2 separate regions of the Homo sapiens genome follow, and region 2 is linked to region 1. Evidence: promoter capture Hi-C in 16 types of primary human blood cells and fetal thymus (Javierre and others, 2016). All regions are on one chromosome and are shown on one strand. The core of a region is centred on a gene start or on the middle of the fragment in contact, and the rest is flanking DNA. Distances in the headings are between cores, read along the strand shown.

The links. The method cuts DNA at HindIII sites, captures the fragments that hold promoters and counts their contacts. A CHiCAGO score of 5 or more calls a contact.
Region 2: a fragment that was not itself captured here is called in contact with the fragment with the promoter of ME1 in region 1 in 1 of 17 cell types (M0 macrophages); the score reaches 5.0 in M0 macrophages.

The regions. Positions count from the first base shown.
Region 1 is chr6:83,428,858-83,432,316 of GRCh38, forward strand. It overlaps ME1 (malic enzyme 1), which reads right to left and starts at 2,194. Exons shown (of 14, transcript NM_002395.6): 1 at 2,020-2,194. The coding sequence starts at 2,097. RefSeq lists enhancers at 1,408-1,677, 2,298-2,467, 2,410-3,459 and a silencer at 1,898-2,087. The HindIII fragment of the contact is 4,994 bases long and covers 1-3,459 here.
Region 2 is chr6:82,226,343-82,229,658 of GRCh38, forward strand. IBTK (inhibitor of Bruton tyrosine kinase) reads right to left here. Exons shown (of 29, transcript NM_015525.4): 5 at 850-960. Among named protein-coding and RNA genes, the nearest start is that of IBTK, 20 kb to the right of the region's middle. RefSeq lists a silencer at 1,527-1,727. The HindIII fragment of the contact is 2,775 bases long and covers 604-3,316 here.

The sequences.
Region 1 (3,459 bases), core at 944-3,443:
AATGTTACATCTTATCTTTGATAGAAGATCTTTGTGATACTATTATTCTGAAGTAGGAATTAATCCTTAATTCCTAGTAACCTTGTGAACAGGAGTCACAAGGATTGTTATATCATAAATTCTTGGCTGGGCGCGGTGGCTCATGCCTGTAATCCCAGCACTTTGGGAGGCTGAGGCGGGTGGATCACGAAGCCAGGAGATCGAGACAATCCTGACTAACACGGTGAAACCCAGTCTGTACTAAAAGTACAAAAAATTTGCCGGGCATGGTGGCGGGCGCTTGTAGTCTCAGCTACTCGGGAGGCTGAGGCAGGAGAATGGCGTGAACCCAGGAGGTGGAGCTTGCAGTGAGCGGAGATCGCGCCACTGCACTCCAACCTGGGCGACAGAGCGCGACTCCGTCTCAAATAATAATAATAATAATAATAAATTCTTGATGTAAGCATAGTAAAGGCAATAATTACTCTTGCTCAGGGATTGCTCATGCCATCTACATACTCTTAATAGACACTCTTGCCCCCAACTTGAGGAAAATCAAACAGGTTATACAACTCATGTGGTCCTTCTTAAGTGTCAACCCACAACTTGGTCATAAATTACAGTAGGCAGGTGACACATACAAGTCACAAATAGTTTTGTCACATCAAATTTTACTTTTGTTCTACTGAAAATAGGTGGCAAACCTGCAGAATAATAAAAGAAAAGAAAAAACAATCAAACTAGCAATTAAATTTATTTTAAAGAAAGAAATAAGTTGGAATTATTTACAATTTAATAATGCTACATGACGGCAGATAGCACACAGTCATAGATTTGTAAAAGGTGCCTGTCACCACACACACAAAAAAAATCACTCACACTGACTATAACTTGTTAAATAAATCATGTCTTTAAGTCATTAATATGATCAACAAATCATCAGGAACACGACAAGGAAAAAGCTGAGCTTCTGTTCTTAATGTGAAATGCAGTCCACCAAAGAGACAACCAAAATAACTAAACAAACCTCTGTGCTGACTGATGGCATTTTCAGACTCCTGAATAAATAGGAAATGTCCAAAGCGCACGCACACACACACACAAAAGGAACAATCCCGAGACAAACCTGGCTGTAAAATAAGTGTGGAAGCAAAATGATAAATTCGGAGGTATTTTTTATTTGAGAGACATCCCGAGTGCTTATATTGCATCACCAGTGAAGGAAAATGAAATGTTACCAGGATCCGAAAAGGAGTCTCTGAACAGGGTGTACACTGAATTCCCCTTTAATAAAAAGAGAGCAGCTCTAAACAAAATTTTTTTTTAACTTCCAGAAAGCCAAATTAAAAACAAAACAAAACAAAACAAAACAAAAGAAAGAAAGAAAAGAAATGGCTTTACCCACAGTCCCATGTCTGGGACAGAGTTCTTCTACCAAGCCATGCAAAGTGTCCAAGACAGAGGCCACCCACCACGCATTCCCAGACTCTTAACCGTGTCACTCCAGAAACCGAGAGGACTTGGATTTCCAGATTGCTAACGTGATCTGAAGGCACTCAGTACACGTTTCTGTCTGGGCAGGACCAGTTGAGCCACTTCTCGCCTTATCAACTTCCAATAATTGCCACACTGTGTGTGCAACCAGTAAGTGAGTGGCACATGGAGTCTGACCTGGCACTCCATTCACACACTTTGTCTGATACTACTTTCATTGTCTGGGCTCTTGTTTTTGGAGAAGAGCTGCCGAAAAGTATCACCTTTTCCTCTATCACTAACCTTTACCTTTACCTCTATCCCTAACATGGGATGCCGAGGTGCAGAGGCACCAGCACTGCCCTGCCATCACTCTAGTGGATACGGACCCGATTAGGCGTCCTTCTTCCTTCTGCCCACACCAAGGCCCCCCAGGCCGCGGCCGCTCACCGGGAACCTTCCCAGGGGAGCGGCGGAGGGGCGAGGCCATGGTGCGGGGACCTGCAAGAGGGCCCTGACCCTGATAGAGAGGGGCCGATGGGCGGCCAGGTGGGCCTGCGGGTTTACCTTGTTGAGGTGAGGGTTCCGTGTCAGCAGGTAGCCGCGCTGATGGGTGTGGCGGCGACGGGGGGCTTCGGGCTCCATGGCTGGCGCCGGGTTCGGCGGCGGGGTCAGGCCGGGGCGGGCCGCACGCGCGGTGCAGGCGGCGGATGCTGCTGGGGTGACGGTGCTGACTGCAGCTGTGGCGGCGGCGGCCGCACTGGGAAAGGCCCAGCGGCTGGGGGCGGGCGTGGGTGGCGAGAGGGGGTGGACGCGTCGGGAGGGGCCCGAGCGAAGCCGGTGTCCCCAGCAGGGCAGCCTGCGAGAAGCGCTGAGTCATGGCAGGAGATCATCCGAGCCGGCGTGTGAGGAGGAGGAGGAAGAGCGAGTCCTGGCAGCGCTGCTGGTGGCGGAGCGGGGGTGGCGGCCGGAGCCCTTGGCTCCATAGGGCCTCTGCCCACCATGGGCTTATGATCACCGCTGTGGTCGCCTCTCTCCATGTGGGCATGCCTAAACGCAGTGCACTGGGTGGCTCTGCTGACCCCAGAGACCCAGGGCGGGGGCAGGGAGCGGGGAGCGTCAGGCCAGGATCCCCCTGCCCGGGAAGGCTGGAGAAAGTGCGAGAAGATGCCAGAAGGTGCGAACCTGAGCGGTTCAGGCAGAGCCGGCGGTCGCTCAGACACCTAGGGGGATTACAGGACGGAAGGACTCGTGAGGGGTCCCCAGAACTGTTGACAGAACACCTCGACAGGCTGAGGAGAATCAGACTCGTCTCTCCTGTCTTGTTAGCGTCTTGGAAGCCCTCTTTCTACAGATCCACAACCTTCGCCGTGCCATCCAGGATGCCGGCCATGCCCGGGGCCCTGAGGCCGGAGGGAACCAACCTTGACCCAGAATGCCGAGGCCCAAGGGAACTGGGAGGAAGCCCAGAGAGGAGAGCTCAGGCGCCACACCTGTCAGTTTCTACAGATTTTCCACCGGAATTGTATTTGAATGTCAATAAGATAAGAGTCAAGGTGTTAGGGTGCAAAGGCCCAATGAACAGTCCTGTTTATCTTGTATATTATTTCTCTGGGAGTTCTAGAAACCTGATGTTCAAGAACCACTGCTCTCTCTGAATAATGATGAGTAAGCAGTCTTTCAGGCCTTCCTCCCAACCTCAGGTGATCCGCCCGCCTCCGCCTTCCAAAGTGCTGGGATTATAGGTGTGAGCCACCGCGCCGGGCCATTTTTTTATTGTTTTATTGATATTTATGCTTGGAGGTTCATGGACTGGAGGAATAGTCAGATCATAGCCAAAAGGAGTGCCTGTCTGATAAAAATAAATTAATAGCAACAGACACTAAAGCCTTCTGTGCCCCAGTTTCCTTTTCAGTTAAATAGGATTGCTAGTTTCTGTCCCATTTGTCTCTGCATACTGATATTACAAAGGATAGTGTTTGAGATTATTTGCTGATTTTATATCTC
Region 2 (3,316 bases), core at 741-3,240, 1.2 Mb before region 1:
GCACCATTTAATAGATAAGTATATCAGAAGTCCCCACAAAAAACATCTTAAAATAACGTAGTGAACCAATTTTCTGATAGGTAATGTACTAGGTCTCTTCTAATTAGCACTAAGTTTCAGTAGCACAAATATAAATTTTGTGACTACATAATGAAAATACTGGCTCAATTTTTAGACCACAGAAATCTTAATGAGAAGTTAAAAACAAAAACCAGAACTACTTCAGGAAAAGTGTTTTACAATTAGTGTGCCTTCTTTTTTGTTTTTTTTTTTTTCTTTTTGAGACGGAGTTTCACTCTTGTTGCCCAGGCTGGAGTGCAATGGCACAATCTCGGCTCACCGCAACCTCCGCCTCCCAGGTTCAAGCAATTCTCCTGCCTCAGTCTTCCAAGTAGCTGGGATTACAGACATGTACCACCATGCCCAGCTAATTTTGTATTTTTAATAGAGACAGGGTTTCTCCATGTTGGCCAGGCCGGTCTCGAACTCCCGACCTCAGGTGATCCGCCTGCTTCAGCCTCCCAAAGTGCTGGGATTACAGGCGTGAGCCACTGCGCCCGGCCTAGTCTGCCTTCTTCTATTTCAACTCTAGAAACATTTTAAAGCTTATGTAACGCTCCTGACTCAGTATTTGCTATAAGCAAAGTATTACTTTTTTTAATCCTTTTGCATTGTATGTAAATCCTTAATTTAAACATGATATATCAGGAAACAGATTTTTTAAAATCTATTATCAATTGATGTATTATTTCGTCCTTACAGTTGAAAAAAAAATTTAGTTAATTAAATCTTTCAGCTTATCAGCATTTTTCTAAAGTTACCTAAATAGTGTAATGACATTTCAATTACCAAGCATGTCTGTTCATCTCCATGTCCTAATCGCCCTCCAGGACCATGACCACAGGTATAAACCTGCCCTTTCTGAGACAGAAACACGGAGTGAAATTTACAAAGCACCACCTAAGGGAAAACAAGAGAATATTATTAAACTTCTCTGAATAAAATATCCTTTATTTTATGAAAAAGAAATAGAATATTGTTAATTGTTTAAACAGGATAATGGATACAAGGGGAATTTATAAGACTTTAATTTCCACATTTTAAGTTTCCTGTAATAAAAATAAAAGATACATATGCTTTGTTTTAAAATTATGTCTAAAAACATTGACACGAAAAAAAAGAACAAAGAAAGAATTAAGCATGTGTTACCCACAGAAGAGATTACCCAAAGGAAAATATAATTTTAAACCTTCAATTCCAAAAATTAGTAGCCAGTTGTTTTCCAGTTTCATGAAATATCAAACAGTAAGAAATGAGCAAAGTGCAACAGGAAGCATAAAGATTACCAAATAGTGATATATGGTACTAATAAAAATAATAGAAACATCTTCAGAGTGTTTTCAAAAAACAATAAAGCCATTTATACATGGCGTAGGGGGCAGTATGTCCTTTTCTTTATCTTTGGTTTTATCAACATGTCTTTAATATACATTTATAATTATTTTAATAAATAATTTTATATTTATTTTCAAGTTTTTCTCTCCTTTCCCACTTCCTTTTTCCTTATCTGCCTCAATCTCAGTACACTCCCTTGCCCCTGATACACAGACTTACTATTCACATACTACAGAAGACAAAGATACTGAAACAGTTGAACTGCCTCAGCAGAACACAATAACAGGAAACCATCAGCAGTTTCAAATATATATATATTTACATATCTAACCCTGGGCCACATTTTGCTATTTTCCAAGCTCTGATATTCATTATACTCACTTTACCTTAATAATATTTTTAAAATCTTCTCATTTTTAAAGATTGTTTGCATTTATATTTCTTACAACATCTGCAAATATTTCTAACTTAGGATATAAAAAGATGAGTAAGAAATAAAGAAACCCTAAAATCATTTCCAGAAAGTCAAGGTCCTTTGGAAAACAAAAAAATTATAAGCTAGACAAGCTCTAAATATTTACACATACCCTAGACCGCTCGGAATTTTGTAAGCACAATATAGCTATCAAATAAAAAAAGTAATGCAAAGATTATTATCTCATTTAGCTGTACCACAAATACCTAAAAAGTTTAAAAATAAAATCCAAATTTGTATTTTAAATTTACAAGTTGTCAGTGAAATTCATTTTATGAAATAAGAAAGAATACATTTCATTCAATTTTATATTAAATATTAGAATGCCATCCTACAACTGCTGACTTCTACTACTAAACAACAGTTGCAATACTAGACAGTTTTAAGTTATCCAACTTTAAAAACCCCAGACTTTTTTTTTTTTTTTGAGACGGAGTCTCGCTCTGTCACCCAGGCTGGAGTGCAGTGGCGCCATCTCGGTTCACTGCAAGCTCTGCCTCCCGGGTTCACGCTATTCTCCTGCCTCAGCCTCCCGAGTAGCTGGGACTACAGGTGCCCGCCACCACGCCTGGCTAATTTTTTATATTTTTGGTAGAGATGGGGTTTCACTGTGTTAGCCAGGATGGTCTCGATCTCCTGACCTCGTGATCTGCCCGCCTCAGCCTCCCAAAGTGCTGGGATTACAGGTATGAGCCACTGCGCCCAGCCTAAAACCCCTGAATTTTTAAATAAGAACTGAGCATGGATTTTCGCTTTTAATTATCTGGAATATATAATACTAACATTAATAATCTCTGTCTCATGGTAGTTAATTAATTTGGTACTGTATAATATAGAATCAGCCCCTTTTCAATAACAAATGGGGCTCTCTATATAACTGGTACTCAATTAATATTCCCATACTTGCTTTCTCTTCCCTGACTGAAATTTATACTGATTTCTTTCCTTCAAACCTACCCACTGTGCTTGCTTCACCCTCATTCTGTGGTAAATAAAATCCCTTAGATCCTTAATACCTTCACAAAACACGCCCACTGCCTTGCCTTACCTGAAATGTGGCTTTCTCTTTGAGTACACTAGTTCACTCACAACCCTGGCAAATGGAATATGCTCAAATATTCCAAACTATATATTTCTTTGGATCAGACATTTCAATCACCCTCTGATTTCCTAATGCCATCATGATTCCCTCACTCTTGTCTTTAAAATCCCTGCTCCGTAACAGCTCATGAAATAAAGGTATATCATGTACTACCTCAAAAAAGGAAAAACAGGTGTCTTTCTTGTGCCACAATTCCAATCAATCATTAGTGGCTGCTAATGGTTGGATTATCATTTTAAGGAGGAGTCTGAGGACCCACTCAAGCTCAGCATGAGAAAAAAAAAACTGACTAGCATGTCTGCAAAAAGCTCTAGACTAGGTGAGCAGCTTGTACACTTGCTGCC